6 separate regions of the Homo sapiens genome follow, and all the other regions are linked to region 2. The links are contacts of gene promoters, found by promoter capture Hi-C in blood cells and fetal thymus (Javierre and others, 2016). All regions are on one chromosome and are shown on one strand. The core of a region is centred on a gene start or on the middle of the fragment in contact, and the rest is flanking DNA. Distances in the headings are between cores, read along the strand shown.

Region 1 (3,877 bases), core at 1,362-3,861, 1.1 Mb after region 2:
AATTGGCTCATGCAGTTACAGTGTCTGAGAAGTTCCAGGACAGGCCATCTGCAAGTTAGAGACCCTGGGATGTCGCTAGCATGGCTCAATCCAAGTCCAAAGGCCTCAGAACTGGGGAAGCTGATTGTGTAACTCCCAGTCTGAGGCCAACAGCCTCAGGACCCGGGGGGCCACTGGTGTTAAGTCCTAGAGTTCAGAGGCAGGACAGCTTGGAGTTCTGATGTCCAAGGCAGCAGAAAAAAAGGTCTGTCCTAGTTCTCAGAAAGAGACTAATTTGCCTTCCATATTTGTTCTTTGGCCCCCAGCTGATTGGATGGTGCCTGCAAGCCGTAAGGGAAGAGTTTCCCCCACCATATCTACACAGACTAACACTTTCATCTTCTCTGAAAACACTCACAGACCCCCAAAATAATGCTTTACCGGGTTTCTACGCATCCTTAATCCAGTCAAATTGACACTTAAAATAAGCCCACAAGTTCCCACCTTGTCAACATGGCACCCAAACACATCATCTTAAACCATACTTAATTTCCAAATAAAAAACAGCAAGGTAATAGTTCTGCCTACCATGATGCAACTACCCTGAGAATAACCCAACACACAAATTCCTTCCCCAGAATTTGGTTTTCAGGATTTCAACATTCGGGATTTTAATCCTTCAGGATTGTGACTTTTTGGATTTTAGACGTTAGAGATTTTAGACTTTAGGGATTTTGATTGTTTGGGATTTCAACACTTGGGATTATGGCGCTCAGGATTGTGTCTTTTGGAATTGTGATGGGCACTGAGTTAGCTCACACAATCTGGTGAGTGCTTGCTGCAGACCAAGCATTTTGCTGAGCGAGATTCCATTAGACACAGTAAGTCCAGTCTTCACAACAGCACTCTGAAATAGGCACTGGGATTGGCTCCATTCAGCAGATTGGGAAATACTGGCCTAGTGTTAAGTGCTTTTGCCTTGGTCATGTATCTACGGGAGGTGACATAGCTGGGACTTACACGCACGAAACCTGGTGCCAAAGCCTGGGTTCATAAGCTTAACGTCATGAAATCCTTTTAGAAGCAGCAACCACCATGAAATTTACTCTGCTATAAGACCTCACTGTAAAAGATTGGTCTGTGGTTACTTTGAAAATAGAGGATTTAAAATCTATGTCCAGTAAATGCAATTTTAGTTTTCAACTTCAAAGTAATATATGAATAGAATTATAGCTTTTTAGTCTTGACAAATGTCACCATTCTATGGCAAACTTTTGAAGAGAAATGTTGTGTTCCAAAAGCTGCAAGTACATTAAATCTTTGTGTACAAAGCCAAAACCTTTTTCTCTCAGTGGGATGTTTTGTTGTGGGATTCCTGGATAACCCACATTAAGGACTGTCTGTAAAGAGAGAAAATCAAGTGATGGTATCATACAGGCCAAAATAACTGTCTATAGGATGTCTTGGGGTCTTTGGTGGCATCCTGTGGGAGACAGCTCAGTTCTGCTCCTGGGATAACTGGTAGAAGACATTCTTCCAGGCAGCTCTCAGAACTTGGCTTTCAGGCTGCACACAGAACTGGAACAGTACTGGGAAATGGTCAAAACTGTACATTTTAACAAAGCTAAAAGGAGAATTTTGAATGTTTTCACCACAAAGATACATTAAATATTTGTGGTAAGAGATATGCTGATTAGCCTGATTTTATCATCCCACAATGTATACATGTATCAAAATACCACATTGTACTCCATAAATACATGCAATAACTATCTGTCAATTAAACATAAAACAAAGAGTACAAGAAAAAGAGGAAACAAGATCAGGGACAGGGGTGATGTGAGCCCTGATCACACACATACTCTCTCATGTAATTCTCATGAAGGAACTGAACACGCTGCTTAATCCTTCTGGGTTGTGCTTTCTTAGTCTATCTCTTCATAGAGTTGTTTTGAGGATGAAATGATTTGAAACATATACAGCACTTAGGAGCAGTGCTGGGACCATCAGGAGCTCTTATGGTTACCAGTGTTTGTTTAGAAGCATGAGCTTTGTAGTCAGATAAACCTGAGTTTCACTCATGACTTTGGTACTTACTTTCTTGTCTAGAGAGGGCTGAAGATACACAGATATTTCGTCTAGAGAGGGCTGAAGATACACAGATATTTATGCTTCCTGTTCAACAGTAAGGAGTTATACGTGAGAAGTGTCTACCTAGCCAGATTCCACATTTCCCATTTCTTCCTGGAGTTAAGTGTGTACAGGTGACTGCGTTCTAGATTACAGAAACTTTGCACAAGTGATGTGCACCACTTCCAGGCCTGGTTCCTTAACCCTCCCAGATACTCTCCTGCATCCTCTTTCTCCTCTTTATTCTGCTAGAATATCGAAATTGACAGAGCTTCTGGCAGCCAGGTCTCTGCCTTCCTCTTCAACAACCTAGTAGACAAGAAATGAACGTCTATTGTGTTAGTGCCAGTGTGCATTTTTGGGTTTATAGAGCAGTTAGGTATAGCCACACTTAATATATGACCCTGGGCAATTATGTATCATCTGTGAACTTCCATCTGTAAAGTGTGGGTAATGGTACTTATTTTGCAATTTTGTTGTAAGGATTAAATGAAATCAAATATAAAATTTTCAGCTTAATCAGGTTGTTATTTTTATTATTTATATACCACTAACATCTAATAGTTAAAGTGTTAGGAGACATTTGATGGTCCTTTTACATGGCTGCAGTATAAATCCCTTTTCTTTCAGTTATATGACAGAAAAGTTATGTTGTTTTCCCAGAGCTCTGGGAGAACAACAGAGGGGAAGTCTATCTGTCCTCTTTATCATCTATTCCCTTGACAGCTTTACATTGAGATTCTGCTGAGAATCTAAACCCCATAAGGTTTGGGACTGGGTCTTATCTTACATCTCTTCCCCCAGAGTAGCTAGCCTAGTGTCTTGTATATAGCAAGTGATTAACACATGTTTCTTGCATTTTTTTTTATTTTCTAGTATTTATTATTTGCATACTATGTTTCCAGCACTGTGCATGTGCTTAATTTTCTTGCATTATTTTCATACAGAGTATCTCATGTGAAACTCCTACAGTATTATGAGATGAGCAGTACTTTTCTCCACTATAGAGATAAAGTCACATCGCATAGCAGCAACAGGAGAATTAGGATAGGAATCCAGGTAATCTGACTTCAGAGCCACTACAGTTCCTCTTATGGATGAATAATAGTAATCTTTAGCTTACTGAGGACATATCATGTAAGTGCTAAACTCTTTACATGTGTAAACCCATTTAATATTCACTACAGCTGTGTAAAGATGAAATTTGTGTATTAGGTGAAGTTTGTTACATAGATATAAAAAAACTAAAGGATGCCTAACTAAGGCATCCAACCCAGTCTTTGCCGTCTTTGGGGAAAAAATTGATAACAGGAAAAATCTACTCATGAATATTTGATAATTATGAAAAAGAAAATCTGGCTGTGCATACGGTAAAAGAATTATTTAATCCTCACTCATTCCTTCACCATTGAATTAGCACCTACGGTATGTCAGGCACTGAAGGAGGAGCTGAGGTTACAGAGAAGTCAGCCCCTGCCCTCAAGAGCTTTTCTGTCTAGTGGGTGTGGGAGAAACATAAACTTAGTGAACTTAAGACATATTAGAGCAAGAGCCAGCTGAATTCTTGATGCTGGGAACAGTTGGACATAACATGACCAGTTTGTACAGTCAGAAGCAGCCAAGTAGGAGGTAATAATTTTAGTTTTACATAAAATGAATGATTTATGAGTGTTTTCTGTTGGGGGGCAGGGAAGCAAAAGAAATGAGACTTACAAGTATTTGTTGGGTTCATTTATTTTAACATTTCCCATATGCTCAGAAGACAACA
Region 2 (4,055 bases), core at 888-3,387:
GAGTACCCCCTCACAATCAAAGGAGCACATCCTGGCCTAACCATAAGTTGTGTTGCAAAAAAATTGGGACCTTATGAAAAAAAGGATGCAGTGGTGAATGAAAAATATGAAAAGGATATGTTTAAAAACTGTACTAAACCAAAGACTTTGACAAAGGGATTTTGAAGAAAAGCAAGAACGCAGTGGCTCATGCCTGTAATCCTAGCACTTTAGGAGGCTGAGGCCAGAAGATCGCTCGAGAGCAGGAGTTTGAGACCAGCCTGAGAAACATAGCAAGACCCCATCACTACAAAAGAAAAATTTAAAAGTTAGCTGGGTGTGATGATGCACACCTTAAGTCTCAGCTACTCAGGAGGCTGGTGGGAGGATCGCCTGACCCCAAGTAGTCATGGCACCATCATGCAGAGAGCCGTGATTGTGCCACTGCACTCCAGCCTGGCTGACAGAGTGAGACCCTGTTCCCACCACTCTCTCCCCAAAAAAAAGATAAAGAAAAAAGAAGGAAGAGGAAAGGATGAAGGTGAAGCGGAGGAAAAGGAAGGATTAAAGACAAAGATGATGGCAATGACAGGGGAGTTGGTTCTAGCAGTTTTCCTTGTCTGTAAAGCATTTAATTCTCCTGTGCACAACTCGTTTCTTTTGAATAAATAATAAGAAACCTGAAATAGCAGACTGTGTATTTATTTTTGACTAAGTCTTCATTTAAGTAAAAAGAATAAAAGGTTTTTTAGATTCCTAATGCTAATAATGCTTAATAGGCCCAAGTACCTAGTCTTTAACATTTATTTCTCTAACTGCACTACCCCCACTTTGAAATATTTTGTTTATACCATCACTCCCTACACCCCAAAATTAAAAACACACGTTTCCAGGGCCTGTTTTTATTTTTTTGTTTTTGTTTTGTTTTGTTTTTGCCAGCTAGATTAACTAGAACTGGACCGAGAGAAAGTCCTCACACCTGAGTTCCTTTCTCAACTCTCCACCAACTGAACCGGGATGGAAACAGACTAGTGAAGTTCTTTCAGTTCCCTTAAAGGTACTTTGAGGTATATAGCAGGTATCTGAAGAATGGCCAGTTTACTCTAACACTCTTTGGTGGGCAAAGTACGAAAACTGAAAGACAGCCTAAAGGATTCCATTAAGAAAAAAGAGAAAAAATAGCCTAATAAAATATAGGTGTCGGAGGACCAATTGTGCAAAAGAGAATCAAGCTGGAGCTCCCTATTTTGCAGGAGCTGGGGCTGCACAGGGTGGAGGGATATAACGATTCTCTAGACTTCTCAAGACTGCCTTTAAAAAACTACCTCAACTTCGACTTCTAATCAATGATCTTGCAGCAAGTTTGTATCTGACCTGGAATTAGAAACAGCTTCAGATCCCTACTAAGCAAGTTTGCTTCGGGGTGGGTAGGGGTCTCACCCAATTACCAAGTCTGTAAGCTGATTCCCAGCACTTCCTATCTATCATCTGAGTAAAATAAATATAAGTGGAAGGCAAGAGTTCTATAAACATTGGGTATCACCACTGTATTTTAAGGTAGAGTGACAGGTGTCCTGTAGAGTCCCTGTAATCACCGGTAACTCTTCAAAAACTTCACGGAGGTTGTATTAGTATTTCCTGACTTGCTCCCGCTGACACATGCCTCCAAGGTCAGCTGGACCAGTGCTACTCATCACCGCAGTGCAGCTAACTGGACGGCCCACCGGAGGCGTGGACTCCTCGGGAACAGGCAGCTTGCTATGAGCCCCCGGCCAGGTCAGTGCATCTCTCTGGCCCTGTTTTCTTATCCCGACTTTCCCCGCTGAGAAAATAACGTGGCCGGCCAGAGGCTGGGGGCGCCGCGTGACCAGGGCTCACCTGTGTCCATCCTCCAGCTGCTGGCACAGCGTGGGCTCCAGCTCCAGCAGGCAGAAGTCGCCGGCTGCAGCGCCGCTGGCCCCAGGGCCGAAGCCCAGGCAGTGCACCGCCGGCAGCAGCTCGGCCGCATTCAGCTTGGCGATCTGCAGCGTCGCATCCACCTCGTCGCGGGTCCTCTTCATCGCAGCGCCGGGTCTAGGAGTCCCGCCGCGCCCGGGTGGCTGCGGGCTTGGCGGGCAAGAAAGAAGTTCCCAAGCAGCCGGAAGGTAGGAAACCTGAGCGTTTGAAAGCGCGCCAAGGCGGCCATGGGCGTGTTTCCGGGGCGGAGCGCGCTGCGGGCCCGCCCGCGGGAAGGCCTGCCGGCTTCTGGGAGCGCGAGCCCCTCCGTGCCCCACGCCGGACCGCGACTGCAGGAAGGAAACGCGGCTTCCCGGGGGGCGGTCTCGGCGGAAGCTCGCAGGGGCAGAGCTGCGACTCGGCGGGTTGGGACACGGATCCCTCGCCCACCCTTTCCGCTGTCCCCTTGCCCGCCCCCCATCCCCGATCTCCGTCCCTGGTTTCCAGCCGATGCTCCCATTTCCTCGCCGTCCACATTGTCTCACCTTCCGCCAGTGGCGGGCCCTGTGATAACCACTTGGCATGTATAATTCCATGAGCCCGTTGCCACAACCCTGTAAGGTGGTGCCTTGGTCATTCCCTTTTGCCAATGAGGAAGCAGGCTCCTTGCTCGTGATGGCAGAGTCAGGAGGTAACAGAGTCTGACTCCAGCCTAGCCGACTGTGGCTCTAAAAGCTTCCTGCGGGGTTTTGTGCAAATAACCCATGCTCGGGAGCGAGGCCCTGGGAAGGAGTATCTCGCTTCTTTGGGTCAGGGCACCATCATATCTGGAGACAACGGCGGGACTAGTCTATTCGTTGAATACCTAGTGTTAACCGAAAAGTGACTGATGCAGGTCTCGTTCAATAGAGGTTTATTTAAGCAAGGTTGAGGACGCACCCGAAGGGAAAAACAAGTCACAGGAGCATCTGTGACTTGTACATTTTCCAAAGGTTTGGGGAACTTCAGTATTAAGAGTTTTAAGAGAAAAGGTTTTCACTATGCACACATACATGAATTGCTTGTAACAGCGTAATGTGTAAACTTTCCCAGAGATGCTTAGGGAATCGTTGAGGGCCCTGGCTGTCCCTGAGAGCTAAAATAGTCTGGGAGGAATCACTTAAGAGATGGTGACCTCCTACTAGTTAGTGCAAATCAGACCTTGCTTGAAGTGAAAGAAAGTGGTGGGTAAGGTGTTGAATTCAAAGGATCTGAGCAGACATTTTTTTCAATTCTTGGGTAAAATGATACGAAAATACCAGAGTAGGGCATCCCAGGAGTCTGGGCAGTGCTTTCGTTGGTGGTGGAAAGATTGGTTCATGTGACCTACTTCTTCACTAGCCTCTTTTACATTTGAATGCATAGGAATTCGGTGGAATGAAATCCTGAATGTGACAGTGGTTGCCTGATAAGAAGTTATTATTGAAGGGAATCAACCATTGTAGTTGCTCTATTAAATGGGAAACATTCCCTACAACTAGAAGCAGTGTCAACTAGAACCCTGACATTTACATCAGACAGGCATGGCTGCGAATCCCAACTCTCTTCAGAACTTTGTGACCTAAGGCAATTTACCTAATTTCTCTGAGTACAACTTCCTTATCGATAAAAAAGCACATAAGACCTACATTCTTAAGATGTACATTCTAAAATGCATGGCTGCTTAATAAATGGCAGCAGTTCTTTTTGTTTTTATGTATTAATCATTATGAATTTAATTTCCAATTAATGGTATGAAATTATTGCCATTAATTTGATATTCTGTCAGGGAGCTGGACCTGTGTTCCTCTCATAAGACAAAATGATGATAGTTTTTATTAATTCATTCTTTAAAATTATGTTAATATGTTTTTCTAAAGTAAGAAATTTTCTGTACCTTTTCAAAAAACGATTGAAGCTGGCTTAATCATTCATCTGGTAGCAGGAAAAAAATATTCTTTATCAGGTAAAAAAATGAACAGTTATAATAAATTTCAAAAGTTCTGTTCATGAGAACAGAATCAGCTAAAATTGATTCTGTTCTCTTGGACACTGTACTCTTGATTATATTGCTCATATATTGTGTTTCATGGCATGAAATGAGAATTTTATTTACTAAATCT
Region 3 (3,681 bases), core at 740-3,239, 1.1 Mb after region 2:
ATCCTTGTCATCTCCATGAACCACAGATAGATTTGGAATGAGCTGGCTTCATTGTCTAATGTCCCTGTGAGTGTCTTTCTTTCAAGTCTGAGAGTGAATCATCCTCTTATATTTTACTCTCCGTTTTGCCTTGACAAAGAGAATGCTTTGGGATAAACAGCTCTGAAACTATAAATGTTACTTTAAAAAAAAAACTACTGCAAATTGCTTGTACTGACTTATTCTACCTTTTACTGAATTCTGCCAATTAAGGTGTTTAAGAAAAGCTGTGAAATGTAATGGTTCTTAGAATCACTTTCTAGTAGATAGAGCTCCTCTTGGGTCAGCTTGACTGTATGATCGCGTCACTAGATTGGGACATAGAAGACAGAGGGTGAATTTATTGATAAGGAAATATCATCATTAATTGTTATAATTTTAATGCAAATACTATTTATGATGGATTAAAAAATGTAGTCTGTAATGATGTTTCTCAAAATATGTCCAGAGTTCCAAACACTTGAGTTCAAACAAATATTTACACTATAGCTTGCTGGTGTATTGAAGGAATGGATATGATGTGAATTGAATAGTCCTTTCACTCTCTCCCACTACCCTTCTCTTGCTCCAGGCAATTGTAATACATATTTTATCCTTAGCATAGATTTTATATGAGACACCAACATCTTTTCTTCTTGAAGAAATAACAGTAAATCTATACTATGTGGCAGAAAAACTGTTAACAAATAGCTTCGTATATTAACAAAACTCCCAGTCTCCCAACAAAATGCATATGTTGCTCAGGTAGCTATCAAGTAGTTCTTCAGTTGTGTGTTAATTGAGGACAGGAACCAAAAGAAATAAAAGACAAAAGGGTTTTTTAGTCTTTAAGTTCTGGGATACATGTGCTGAACATACAGGTTTGTTACATAGGTATACATGTGCCATGGTGGTTTACTGCACCCATCAACCCATCATCTAGGTGTTAAGCACCACATGCATTAGATATTTATCCTAATGCTGTCCTGACAAGAGGGATTTTTGTTGGAAAAGGCAGAGAGTTACTGGCAGGAGGAAAACAACAACAAAAAGAAAGGACAAAGGGACTAGGAGGCCGAAAGTATGTTATTGGAGATCTTGAGAGCATGGAGGTGGTTAGGAAAAAGATTTGATTTTGTGAGTAGCTGCCATATGTGACATATATAGACAGGGAGAATGATAACGGAAAGAGGCTTTAAGAAGTTTGGCTTTGCATTATAAATGTAATCTACTCCTGGCTCCTTTTTAGGGAACTACAGTAAAGACATAAATTACATTCAATTATTGTGTCTGCAGGATCTTTTTTTTTTTTTTTTTGCATGTAATACTAAAGACAGTTGGGGCCTCTGAATGGCTTTATAAAGGTTAACTTTGAATAAAGCATTTGAACCATTCTGCCATTTTTGTGCCTTAAAACTCCCTGTTTCTCCAGGCATCCTATGAGATATATCTTCAGTATTGAGAAGAAATAGCTGAAAATCCAAGGGCTTGAAGTTAGACAGATCTGGGTTTGACTTCTAACTGCTCACTTGCTAGCTGTTTCTCATAGCGCAATATCACCTCATAGGGCAGTATTACCTCAGCTTCCTTATCTATAATATGGAGTTAAGAGTATCTACTCTGTAGGACTGTTGTAATCATCAAAACAAAACATCTAGCAAATATCATAAAACAACTGGGGCTTCATCAGTCCGAGTCCTGCCAGAAAACATGGCCCATTCAAATTAGGAAAACTTGAGGAAAATGTAGAGCAGGGCAATGTGTAGGCAGGGCAGAGGAAAACTACAAGATATAGTACAATATTCTGGGGTCACCAACTTTAGGCCTGAAGATGTGAGCAGAAGAAGTGTTTCCTGGGATCCAGGGAGAACCTAAGAAGGCTGTGTAGGGAGAACTATCAGGCAGGTGCTGAGACCTTTTGTGGAGAAATGTGCCCAGCCCTTGGCAATCACTGGGGAATTGGGAAATGAATTGTGTAGCTTTCTTCCCTCTCTTTTCGTCCCTCTAGTTTCCTCCAGGGTCTTCTATTGGTTAAACCTAACTTGAAGCCATTTGGTAAGGAAGTCCATTAAGGTCACAGGAGTCAGCTGTGAAACAGATTAAATAAGGATTGAGAGTGGATCTGGGGCAAACTAAACAGACTCATCGTGCTCAGTAAGTATCAATTCCCTTATTTTTCTTCCCAATAGTGTGGAAAAGAGGATGTCTTTCCCATGGAAGAATAATCATACAGTAGAGGTGTCAATAGTCCCTGAAAGACTATCCCTTATATGTAAGTTCTTCAGATTGTGATACATCACAGACACAGCTCTGGAGTTGGAAATCAACACCTATCAATCTTTGTTCAAAGGATCAGCAGGAAGAGCATGGCTAGTCTAGTGGCCGGCTCTCTGAGAGTGAGTGATGCAGAGAACTTGCTATGCTGGTCAGAGATAAACAGGAGCTCTTGTTTCGACAGTGGCTTTTCAAGTTTGCCTCTTGGCATGAAGCTGACTTTGGCAGAGGGTATCATATAAACAGGGCATATGCCCAAGCATGTAAGCCAGGCCCAACTTGCTGGATATATTCTCACCTCCAGCGCAAGACTCATGGCTATCTGACAAAGCTGATGGTAGGGAATTTTTTCAGAAGACTGACCTCTTGGACTTTTTTCAAAATTTGTACATAAACTGAAGACTCTGTTTGGGAAAGAGAATGCTTGGTCATCACTTTGGCAGAGCTTTGATTCACTTCACTTGTTAAGCTCCTGACCTTTGAATGAATAACTCTTCTCCTTTGCTTCCCAGAAGATATATTCATATCCTAGTCCCCAGAACCTGTGAATGTTGTGATGTTTGGAAAAGTGTCTTTGCAAATGTCATTAAGTTAAGGATATTGAGAAGAGGCGATCATTCTGAATTATCTGGATGGGTCCTAGATCCAATAGCAAGCATGCTTATAAGATACACATGGGGGATAGATACAATGAGAAAAAGGCTATGTGAAGATGGAGGCAGAGATTAGTGTGATGTAGCCACAAGCCAAGAAAGCTGGCAGGCATCAGAAACTGGAAGAGATGTGGAACAAATTTTTCCCTAGGGGTTTTGTGGGGAGTATGACCCTGGTTGTAGACTTCTGGCCTCCAGAATGGTGAGGAAATAAATTTCCATCATTGTAAGACACTAAGTTTGTGGTAATTGGTCGCAGCAGCCCCAGGAAACAAATATACCTCCTATAAAACCATCTATGTTAGCACTGTGACTGCTAAGCACTCTGAATATTAGCAGCCTGAAGAACTATAGAAATAGTGCAGATTTTATATACTTGAAAATTTGGTTCTTATCACAAAAAAAACTGATAAGTATGGAGGTAATGCATATGTTAATTAGTTTGATTTAGTCATTCCACAATACACATATTTCAAAACATCATGTTATACACCATAAATATTTAAAAAACCACATTTTTATTTTTCAATTAAAATATGAATAAAAGAAAAATAGTACAGAGTATAAATATCTTGGAATGTATTTTTCTGAAGTTTCTGAGAAGTCATCACAAATCCTGAGAAGCTGTGCTAATTTATACCTTAAGCACTTGCAATGAAACATTACATTAAAAGAGAGGCAGAAGGAAGAACATTGGAAGACATGTGTTCTATACTGGTAGCTACTCACTGGCCAC
Region 4 (3,929 bases), core at 127-2,626, 1.1 Mb after region 2:
GCACTCTATATGCATTTAACCTTTGCAACATCGGATAATGCATTATTTGTCTCATTTTGTAGATGAAGAAATTGAAGCTTAGGGAGCTCAAGTAACAGAGTTGGTAAATGGCAGAGCTGGGATTCTGGCTCAGGTATATCTGATTTCAGAGCCCAAGCACCTCGTTTATTAGCTGCTTTTGGTTCTACCTTCTTCCATAGCCACATGACTCACTCCCTTGCTTATTTCATGTCTCTGCTTAGTTTTCACTAATTTATCCACTCTGTAGAAAACAGCAGTCCCCTCCCTCATCCCTACACTTCCTGTCTGCCACACCGCTTTATTTAGCATTATAACATCTTATATCATATGGCACTTTACAATTACTTGCTTCTTGATCATTTGTCTCTCACTGGAACAAAAGCTCCTTAAGGCCAGGGCCCTTGTATTATTCACTGGTGTGTCTCCAGCACCCAAAGTGGTATCTGGCAGCTTCACAAAACAGGTAAGTGATTTGAGTTCACTCTGTCAAAGAACAACATTTGTTTGACTGTAGGAGTAAATTACAATTTGTTTTTATATCATATGTACAGACTGATCTGTGTGGTACAGAGACCAAGCAAATAGTGGTAATCCTTCACAGAACACATTTTATTCATATATTTTAACAAGGATGATGTACAAATATTTATCAATGCAAATTTTTATCTTTATTACACATATTCAAAAATGTCCCAATGAGTTCTGCTGCATTTTCTTTACAAATACATGTTTTGATAATAGCTTTATTTATATATAATTTATTTACCATAGAATTCACCCCTTGAAAGTGAATACTCCAGTGACTTTTACTACATTCATGAGCTTTGCAACCATGGCAGCCATCAATTTTTTTTTTTTTTTTTTTTTTTTTTGAGATGGAGTTTTGTCTTGTCACCCAGGCTGGAATGCAGTGGCGTGATCTCAGCTCACTGCAACCTCCTCCTCCCGGGTTTAAGTGATTCTCCTGCCTCTGTCTCCCGAGTAGCTGGGATTACAGGCACGTGCCACCATGCCCGGCTAAATTTTGTATTTTTAGTAGAGATGGGGTTTCACCACGTTGGCCAGGCTGATCTCGAACTCCTGACCTCAGGTGATCCGCCTGCCTTGGCCTCCCAAGCAGCCATCAATTTTAAGACCTCTTCATCACCCCCAAAAGGGTACACTTCCAAAAGGAAGCCTGTACCAATTAGCCATCATCCCCACCATTTGCTCCCAAACCTCAAGCCTAGGAAATCGTTAATCTAATTTCTTTCTCATGGATTTTCCTATTTAGACATTTGACATAAATGGAATCATGCAACACACACACACACACCGCCATAGTGGTATCTGGGGTATATAACATATACTCTATAAATATTCACATTCAAATAAATACACTAATTAATTGAGATCAGTGAAACAAGTCACAGAAAACTTAAGATTAAGACAGCCTCACTTATAATTTCATTGCCTTTAGATTTATTCTGAATGTTTTCATGTGTGTCTCATATTTGTGATGTTTTGAAGACATTCTATGAGCCATTATTTCCTCTAAGAATTGGGGAACCTGCAGTCCATACATTGGGTCTTGTTCCTCTACTTAATTTCACTTGGTTCATTGGAAAAGTACCAAGAAAGTGATGTTGCTGTTTACAATTGTTGCATAGTTGAGAAGATGGAGTAAGGCATCAGAAGCCTTCAGCTGCAGTATCCTTACCTTCCACAAGATGGTGCTCCTATTCTATAGAAGTCACTGTATTGCTCAGGTTCTGTGATGCTTGTTTTTCTGGGTTTGACTTTTTAATTTCGTTGTGCTTGTCTCTGCCTTTTTCTTAGAATTTTTGGTGTTTCTATCTCTTTCTACTTTTCTTTTTTTCTCTTATATTTAAACCTTTACCTGGGCAGTTTATTATATAGAACAAAGTAGACATCTTTATTGTTTAACAAAATAAGGTTGAGTTTTATGTTCCTTGATGTTATCTTTAAAATCTAATGAATGCACAATAATGTAGACTATATACTTATTTATCTAAGGAAAATCAAATATGTAAAAGTTGTTTCTGAGGTCAGTTATGTGGCTGTTGACTATTCTTTTCTCTCTCTAGATTAATTTTGTAAGTTTTTTTATGGTTTTTAAAAACAGGGTTTTACTGTTGCCCAGGCTGTAGTGCAGTGGCATGATCATGGCTCACTGTAGCTGCAAACGCTGGGGCTCAAGTAATCTTCTTGCCTCAGCGTCCCAAAGTGCTGAGATTACAAGTATGAACCATGGTGCCTAGCCCTATTTTGTAAGATTTTTAGAGTTGTGGCTGGGCGCAGTGGCTCACGCCTATAATCCCAGCATTTTGGGAGGCTGAGGTGGGCAGATCACCTGAGGTCAGGAGTTCAAGACCAGCCTGGCCAAGATGGTGAAAACCCATCTCTACTAAAAATACAAAAATTAGCTGGGCATGGTGGTGGGCGCCTGTAATCCCAGCTACTCAGGGGGCTGAGGCAAGGAATTGCTTGATTCCAGCCTGGGAGGCAGAGCAAGACTCCGTCTCAACGAAAAACGAAACAAAACAAAAGACTTGTGAGGCTTGGAGGTATTGAATTGTTTTTGAGGTCATTCATGTGGCTAATGACTATTTTTCCCTCTTTTAAGGTTAATTTTGTAAGACTTACAGAAGTTTTAAAGCTTGGAGATATGAAGTGATTTGTCACAAATAGTACAGGTTGCTGGAAGAACCAGGAATTAAATTTACATCAGTTTGCTTTAAGTCTACCTCACGTTTACTCTGCCTTGCTGACATCCTGCTCCTTGATTCTCTGAATCAATCCTACTATTCAAGAAAAAAAGTTTAAAAAGTAGGTTAGTTTAAAAGGCAGAAGTAGATGATTTCTGACAACTGACAACAGAACAAGTAAATACGGGTGTGCTGATGTGGTAGGCCACACGTTTGGTATTGTAAGGTCCATCTTTTTTTTTTTTTTTTTTCTTTTTCAGCATCCCTTCCTTTTGGGAAATGCTTCTTAACCCTCTACTTGATTACAATAGAACCAGTAGGAACTTCAATCCTGTGGCTTTGTCTTCAATTCATGAATGTGTGCGTGACTCAGACTGACCAAGTAGAGAAACTCCTCCTTGCAGGAAGGGATTGGCTTAAGGAGGGCACGGAGCTTGCATGGAGAGCCTCATACAGTGCTTTGTGTGGCTCAGGGAGCAGTGGGGGCAGAGGTCAATATTAATATTGGTATTAATATTGGCTGTTGGGACTATGAACTCTCAGTACCATGTGTAACCATTTTCTTGCTAGTATTAATTGGGTGCACAGAAAAAATGATAACATCATTTTTTTGCTACCTGCTGCCCTCTCTGATCCACTGACTCTCACTTTCCTGTCCTGTGATAATCTCTTAGGAAAATCCTATGACTACCAAGTCACTTTCAACATCAAAAATGTCTCATTTCAGGTATTGAAAAATCTAGTGTGGTCCAAGTCAAAACTTTGATCTCAGATCCTCATTAGAGTTTCTTCCCTCCACCAAGGTCAGGTCTGAGCTGTAGTTCACGATCATGTGACCATGAAGAGGTGGGCCCTCCCATCTCACTGTACTGCTTACCAGTTTTCCTTCATTTTCTTCCAGGGTATGGCCCAAGGAGAAGAGGATGAGGGGGGAGGAGAGGGAGGGTGTCACCTATTTGGTGCTGTCTCAATCTGACTTCAGTATTTTCTGTCGTGGCAGGTGTTCAAGTGTAGGTTTTAGGGAGTAGAGGGGCACTCGTGGGTTTATCAGAGACCCCCCCCCGCCAACAAGGGTGTTCACCTGGCTGTCATTCAAGTGTGTTCCTCCTCCTTGCCTTTGTTCTTTTGGTTCCAGTACCTCTCTCAGGACTTTCCAAGGGGCTAATAATTTCTGAATAGCTTTAATTAAAATAAAATTTA
Region 5 (3,735 bases), core at 888-3,387, 1.0 Mb after region 2:
AAAAGTTTGTTGAAAAAAATGAGCAAATGAATACATGAAAGCATGAGCCGCAAAAGGAAGGCTAAGTGAGCCCTGAGTACTGTTAGCTTTGGACCCCACCTCCTCTCTAGAAGCTTCACTGGCAACTTCAGACCCAGCCTTTCCACTTCATACCAGCTGCACAGAAAGTTTGGTTTAAAACTAAATGTTATGTCACTATGAAGGGAAGTTGGGTGCGCTCTACACAGTGGAGTGTACTATCAGCAGAGTTCATGCTGTTTTACGATGTTTAGCTTGGATGGGAAGCCTCCATCTGCCCTTGGATGCGGCCGCTGATGTTAATTCAGTCTAGGCATTGATGGCTGAAGCTCTGTGTTTTCAACTATTTAATACCTAGCACCTGGTCCATCTCTTCACCACTCTTCATTCTGATTCATGATTTCCTCATATCTCTACTTTTTGCTCTATGTTTCCACCTTGGAGGGTATCCTACGTGCTTCTTTGGACAATTCCTAGTGCCTACATTTGAGCATCTAAACTCTTTACTTGACACTCTCATAATTTCTTCATGTATAGCCACATTTTCAATTTTTTATTTTTATGTTTTTAAAAAAGATATGGTTGTATCAATGATTCATTAGGGATTGTGTTCTGCTCCATGTCATGAGAACTTGAAAAAATGGTTCCTTAATAATTCAGGGATCTGTTTCTCTTTCCTATAAATAGAAGTGCTGAGAGGGGCAGTTCGGACTTCATTTTGTAGCTGAACAACACTCCCAGTAACCCAGGTTTCTTCTGTGTTTCCATGGAGACTCCATTGGCATGGGGTTTTTATTTTCAAAAATGTTTGGTGATTGCAAAATGAAAGCCCCTTTTCCAGTGTCAAGTTCACAATCTACATAGAATAAGGGACAGAGGTGAAGGGCACAGCACTTATTTTAGTTAAGTGTGTCTTTTTTTTATGGAACTTTCCCTGAATCCCTCCTAGTGATATCCAGTTACATCTCGTCAGCCACACTATGTGATGTAGCTACCCTTAGCCACAGTGGAAGCTGAGACAAAGCCAGCTACCCTGAACCAAACCTTGGTTCTCTTACTAAGGAAAAAGGGGAAACTAAATATAGGGTGCACTTTAAGTCCAGTGATTCTTTGTTGACTTTTTGCCTCGATGATCTGTCTAGTTCAATCAGTGGAGTGCTGAAGTTTCCCACTATTGTTGTGTTACTGTATATCTCTTTTCTTAGGTCTAGTACTAACTGCTTTATGAATCTGAGAGCTCTGGAGTTAGGTACATATATATTTAGGATTGTAATTTTTCTTTACTTTTTTCTGATTGGGTTAATTTGAAAGCCTTGTCTTTGAAGTCTGAAGTTCGTTCTTCTACTTGGTCTAGTCTATTGTTAAACTTTTACACTGCATATTTTAATTCCCTAAATATGTCTTTCATTTCCAGAAATACTGATTGATTTTTCTTTAAAATATCTCTTTATCTCGTTTAATTTTTTTTTCATTCATATCCTCCATTTGTTCCCTTCTCCAAGACCCTTCATGAGTGGGAGGGCTGCCTGACTGTCGGGGTAGATCTGAGACTAGACTTTCCCCAGTGAGCCTAGCAGTGTGCCTATGCCTCTGCTGAAAGAAACTGCCCACAAGTGGAAAGCTCGGGGACTCAGGGCTTGCAGCCTGATTTCTTTTGTCTCATGGGATGCTCCCTTGAGATGTCCCATGAGACATCCCATCAGATGTCCATGGCGCATTCCCTCTACCCTAGGAGTAGCAGTCCCTGCGGGGGCAAGACTACTGTGAATCCTGCTGCTCCTCTGGGTCTAGCCACCCAGTGGGGCTGCTGTACTCCAGTCTGGTGCTGGGGAATGTCTGCAGGGGATCCAGTGATGTGATGTTCCTAGTAGTGGGTAACAGCATCATTCCTGATGGGGGTCAGAGGGTAGTGCCATAGACTCTGGGATTTCCTGGATATAAATAGGCTTGTCATAGTAATATACTAAATACGTGGATAGACTCAAGGCCTCCTGGTTAGCCTGGATGATGCAAGCAATTGTGATCGCTGAGGTTACATAAAAGTATTCTCCTTCCTGAGTGCTGTGTTATTGTGCCTGCAGATGTTGCAATGGGCTGTGCCAGCTGGCCTCCAGCCAGGAGGTGGTGCTTGCCAAAGAGCACCAGCTGCAGTGGTAGCAGTGGAATTTGTGCTCGCCTTATGTTACCCACTGCAGGTACTCTGGTATCTCAGGTGATGGGTAAGGCCATGGAGCTTCCAAATATTCCTCTCCATTGTGTTACACTACCAGGGTAGGTGGAAGGGCAGAGCCTGGTAGGGCCTAGGTCAGGCAAGTTTGTACTCTGGCTTCCCAAGTGTGGACACAAGCAGTGGCCCCACTGAAGATCAGACAGCTGTTCCCTGGCTGCTGGGAGGAGCACAGCTGCCTCTGCTGCACAAAAAGATCCACGCAGGAAGCAGGGGATAGCAGGTGGCAATAAGCCCCACTCAGCTACTCAGCTCCTACTTATCTGGCAATACAGGTCTCACACTTGGGTTCCAGGCAGCCTGTACTCAGAACTCAAAACTGCCCCAGGCTCTAGGCCTACCCAACTGAGACAGAAACAGTGGCTTTCAGGTTATACCCCTTCCAGTCCATCCACAAAGCAGGCACCCAGCTCCTGTGCCCATTTCTTAGCACACTTCCTGCTCTCCCCTTGGTTCTGGGCATCAGGTTTCATCCCCCTTGAGATTATATCACAAATATCAATTCGGAGCTTCTGTCAACCTGTGACCACTGCCTGAGTTAGCTGGCAGACTTCTGTAAGGTCCCCTGAGACAGGATCAGGAATGGCTTCCCTCCACCCCGCTGGAGTCTGGGACTGCACACAAAGCATATCTTCATGCTGCTCCTTCTTACATACTCCCCACCACTCATTAAATCAGCTCCAGCACTGGGTAGAGTCACAACTTTTCTCCAGGGCCTGGACTGCCTGGCTCCCCAGTGGGAGTGTGTCACAGAGGCAGTCTCTCCCCTTCTCACACTATGCAAACCCCCAGTTTTTTACCTGGTTCGTGGTGGAGGCTACTTCCTCCTGCTTCTTTCCAAGAGTCTGTAGCTCCTTTCGGTTTTTCTATTAAGTTCCCGTGTTGCTTCTTGGAAAAAATTTCAGAGTGAGAATCTCGACACACTATTTTGTCTTTCCAAGTGGGAGAGGCATGCTAAAAATGCCTCCAATCTATCACCTTGAAAAAAAGAAAAACCCATTTACTTTTTAAGAAGAAAACATTTTTATTTGTATAAGTTGCCAAATTTCATACATGCTTACCTCAGCTTCTGACTATAATGGGGTAACCGTGATGGGACTTAATCCTCTCATAGTAAACAACTGGATAACTGGATGAAATACACAAGGCAACTATTTCTGGACAGTAGACAACAGGCAGTGCAGGGCTGTAATTTATGAGAGAAGGGAAATAAGCAAGGTGAATGCATTAGTTCCTTCTCACACTTCTATGAAGAAATACCCAAGATTGGGTAATTTATAAAGAAAAGAGGTTTAATTGACTCACAGTTCTGCAGAGCTGGGGAGGCCTCAGGAAACTTACAATCATAGCAGAAGGGGAAGCAAACACATCCTTCTTTACATGGTGGTAGGAAGGAGCATAATGATAACTGAGTGAAGGGGGAAGCCCCTTGTAAAACCATCAGATTTTGTGAGAACTTACTCACTATCCCGAGAATAGTACGAGGGAAA
Region 6 (3,616 bases), core at 857-3,356, 1.1 Mb after region 2:
TTTATCAAGTTCCCATAGAGACTTTTCCATTAAAGAGGCTTGCCTGATCATGATATGATAGATTTACTTACCACTGTATCCCCCATGCTAAGTTCAGTGCCTGGATCACAGCGTATGCTCATTAAATATTTGTTGAGTTGACTAAATATTATGCATAGTCAGCAAATATGGTTGCATGCCTACTGTGAGTCAGAAATTAGGCTAAGCATTTTTGAGTGCTAAAAGTTAAGTTTTCTCAATGTAAATTAGTAATTTGACACTGATTAATTAATCATTGATTAATTGATTAATCATTGATTTATGAGTCAGGTTAATATGGGTTTAGACCCTCACATCTCATCACTCCATGTAAAATGTAGTTCTTGAATATGTAAGCCCAAATTTGGACACTTCTGTAAGTCTTTAAGCACTTTGAAAAGCCCTATTGACTTGGCAAAGATTTCATGATGAAGATGCCAAAAGCAATTGCGACAAAAACAAAAATTAACAAATGGGACATAATTAAACTAAAGAGCTTCTGCATAGTAAAAGAAAGTATCAACAGAGTAAACAGTCTACAGATGGGAGGAAATATCTGCAAACCTTACATCTGACAAAGGTCTAATAATCAGAATCAACAAGGAATTTGAACAAATTAACAAGAAAAAACAAACAACTCCATTAAAAAGTGGGCAAAGAATATGAATATACCCCTTTCAAAAGAGGACATACATACAACCAACAAGCATATGAAAAAATGCTCAACCTCACTAATCATTAGAGAAATTCAAATCAAAACCACAATGAGATACCATCTCACACCAGTCAGAATGACTATTATTAAAAAGTCATCAAGTAGCAGATGCTGGTGAGCTTGCAAAGAAAAGGGAACACTTATACACTGCTGGTGGGAGTGTAAATTAGTTCAGCCATTGTGGAAAGCAGTTTGGCAATTTCTCAAAGGACTCAAAACAGAATTACCATTCAACTCAGCAATCCCATGATTGAGTATATACCCGAAGAACTATAAATCATTCTATCATAAAGAACATGCATCTCATGTTCATCACAGCACTATTTACAATAACAAAGACATTGAATCAACCTAAATGCCTCTCAACGGTAGACTGGATAAAGCAAATATGGTATGTATACACTATGGAATATTATGCAGCCATAAAAAAGAATAAGATCATGTCCTTTGCAGCAACAAGGATGCAGCTGGAGACTATTATCCTAAGGAACAGAAAATCAAATAGTTTATACTCTCATTTATAAGTGGGAGCTAAACATTGAGTACACATGGACACAAAGAAGAGAACAATAGACACCAAGACCTACTTGATGGTGGAAGGTGAGAGGGGGTGAAGATAGAAACACTACCTATCAGTTACTACGCTTATTACCTGTGTGATGAAATAATCTGTATCCTAAATCCCTGTGACACGCAATTTACCAATATAACAAACCTGCAGATGTACTCTTGAACATAAAAGTAAAATCATGAAAAGCCCTATTGAACTGTCCTTCAGACTCTTATTTATTCATCATTCAATTATTCATTTGGTTATTTTTTCAAATCTTCCCTTCATTTGATTTTTCTATTATTCTTTTGATTAATGATTATCAATACCTACAATGTGTCAGAAGTTATGCTTGGTATCGAGTGGAGATTTAAAAATATTAAGACAAGGCCGGGCATGGTGGCTCACACCTGTAATCCTAGCACTTTGGGAGGCCGAGGCGGGTGGATCACCTGAGATCAGGAGTTCAAGACCAGCCTGGCCAACATGGTAAAACCCCGTCTCTACTAAAAATACAAAAAAAATTAGCCAGGTCTGGTGGTGGGCACCTGTAATCCCAGCTACTTGGGAGGCTGAGGCAGGAGAATTGCTTGAACCTGGGAGGTGGAGGTTGTGGTGAGCCGAGATCATGCCACTGCACTCCAGCCTGGGTGACAGAGTAAAACTCCATCTCAAAAAAAAAAAAAAATATATATATATATATATATATATATATACATATATATAAAATTCTTGTGCTGAAAGAACTAATACACCATATAATCTTTAAAAAAATTGCTGGGAGTTACACCCTCTGGCCATTTTGAAGGTAACATATAATACTGAGAGCCTCTTGCTTCCTACCAAGCCAGTTTTCAGGTTAAGGGAAATGAGTGCAGGCACCTGGATTCCCAATCCTGGTTGCAGCCTCTCTTCTCTCCACACCAAATTCCAGGCCTGTCACTGAAGACTTGCAGCTTGGGAGAAATTCTAAAACTCACTCAACTACAGAGAAGTTTAATGAGGAATTCAGGACAGGAAGTTAAGTTTACTATTATGTTTTCAATCATGAAAGGGAACGGTTTGGATATCTATTTTGAGGCAAACACTATCATCTTCTGTTTTACAGTAGTGTTTTTTTAGAAGCTATTTAAGACTATATGACTCCTTTTATAATTATCAAGATTTCAGATAAGCACTGAGCTGCTCCACTACATAATTGTAGCAGTGAGTGTGGGTGCCCCACCCACTTGAAGATAGACTGGAGTCAGCCCACATTTATATATTTGATGTGGTTTTATAGGAAGAGCCCCAAGTGAAATTCTTCCATATGGTGGCTCTTTGGGACCTAATCCAGGTGTCTTATTCAAAATCAGGGTTTTCAAGTCTGAAGTGAAGTACAATGGAGTACTTTAAAGAATTCAGCAGTCGGCAGTACTTTGATGATTTAAAATGCATACCTTAATGTAACCAACATTTATTGAGTGTTTATTACATGTACTAGATATTTTCACAGACATTAACTTGGTTACTTCTCAAACTAATGTATTGAAATAAATATTTTTTTATAAATGAGAAAATGGAAGTTCAGAAAGTTTAATCAACTGCCCCCAATTCAGAAAGCTATTACACATTGGAAACATGTCTAGTTATAAATGTTTTCTCCCTTTCATTACTAATGAAAGCAATGCTCCTCAGGTTTGCTTCCTTCTTCAGTCTCTCCTTCTTTTTTTTTTCTTCCTTCCCTTTCCTTCTCCCTTCTTTCTCTATTGTATCCCTTCTCTCAATTACCCTTCCTCCATCCTTTCTTTCTTGAGTGTCTGCTATGTGTCAGGCCCTGCCCTGGGACTTGGAGATTCAGACGCCATGATCTAGCCCTTTGTGAGAAACAGACGGGATGGTCACAGTGAGATATTTACTAAGAAATCAGTTATATAATCCTGGAGCTTGACTGAAAGAAAATTTGGGGCAAGAAATACTTTGTGAAATCACACATGCTTTTAAGACCACCTAAAAGTCTACTTAGAGTTACAGGAGGGTCAAAAACAGGGACCCAGGAAATACTGACCTTCATGAAGATTCATGGAAATCGAGGAGCCTCTGAGAGATTCCAAGGAGGAAATGGCCTCAGTGAAGAGAAGAAAATTGAAAGCTATTTTTGTCATTAAAAGTGTCACAAAATTCAGAAAAATTAACACAACTGAGCTTCCATGGTTGGAAAGTGGAAGGGTCATAGGTAAATATCATTATTAGGAGGAATATTATTCCGCATTCATATATTTCCATATAGAATTAGTGGCTCTATTTCTGTCCCTTAGACATGTCATCTTGGTGGAGAGAGGTGATACTCTATT

The links. Contacts are between HindIII fragments. The CHiCAGO score rates a contact against its expected background, and 5 or more counts as called.
Region 1: a fragment that was not itself captured here is called in contact with the fragment with the promoter of DSCC1 in region 2 in 2 of 17 cell types (naive B cells and total B cells); the score reaches 10.9 in naive B cells.
Region 3: a contact is called between a fragment that was not itself captured here and the fragment with the promoter of DSCC1 in region 2, in 2 of 17 cell types (total B cells and naive B cells). The highest score is 7.6, in total B cells.
Region 4: a contact is called between a fragment that was not itself captured here and the fragment with the promoter of DSCC1 in region 2, in 7 of 17 cell types (total B cells, naive CD4 T cells, total CD4 T cells and 4 more). The highest score is 14.4, in total B cells.
Region 5: a contact is called between a fragment that was not itself captured here and the fragment with the promoter of DSCC1 in region 2, in 1 of 17 cell types (naive B cells). The highest score is 6.2, in naive B cells.
Region 6: a contact is called between a fragment that was not itself captured here and the fragment with the promoter of DSCC1 in region 2, in 1 of 17 cell types (total CD4 T cells). The highest score is 5.2, in total CD4 T cells.

What each region holds. Positions count from the first base shown.
Region 1 is chr8:120,964,658-120,968,534 of GRCh38, forward strand. No RefSeq gene overlaps it. Among named protein-coding and RNA genes, the nearest start is that of SNTB1, 150 kb to the left of the region's middle. The HindIII fragment of the contact is 3,155 bases long and covers 1,035-3,877 here.
Region 2 is chr8:119,853,757-119,857,811 of GRCh38, forward strand. It overlaps DSCC1 (DNA replication and sister chromatid cohesion 1), which reads right to left and starts at 2,138. Exons shown (of 9, transcript NM_024094.3): 1 at 1,858-2,138. The coding sequence starts at 2,039. It overlaps LOC105375728 (a long non-coding RNA gene), which reads left to right. Exons shown (of 4, transcript XR_928590.3): 2 at 919-1,046; 3 at 1,650-2,123. RefSeq lists an enhancer at 1,810-2,119 and a silencer at 2,230-2,289. The HindIII fragment of the contact is 2,867 bases long and covers 1-2,647 here.
Region 3 is chr8:120,925,603-120,929,283 of GRCh38, forward strand. No RefSeq gene overlaps it. Among named protein-coding and RNA genes, the nearest start is that of SNTB1, 120 kb to the left of the region's middle. The HindIII fragment of the contact is 8,548 bases long and covers 1-3,681 here.
Region 4 is chr8:120,949,645-120,953,573 of GRCh38, forward strand. No RefSeq gene overlaps it. Among named protein-coding and RNA genes, the nearest start is that of SNTB1, 140 kb to the left of the region's middle. The HindIII fragment of the contact is 2,603 bases long and covers 76-2,678 here.
Region 5 is chr8:120,859,503-120,863,237 of GRCh38, forward strand. No RefSeq gene overlaps it. Among named protein-coding and RNA genes, the nearest start is that of SNTB1, 49 kb to the left of the region's middle. The HindIII fragment of the contact is 4,053 bases long and covers 112-3,735 here.
Region 6 is chr8:120,908,465-120,912,080 of GRCh38, forward strand. No RefSeq gene overlaps it. Among named protein-coding and RNA genes, the nearest start is that of SNTB1, 98 kb to the left of the region's middle. The HindIII fragment of the contact is 8,091 bases long and covers 1-3,616 here.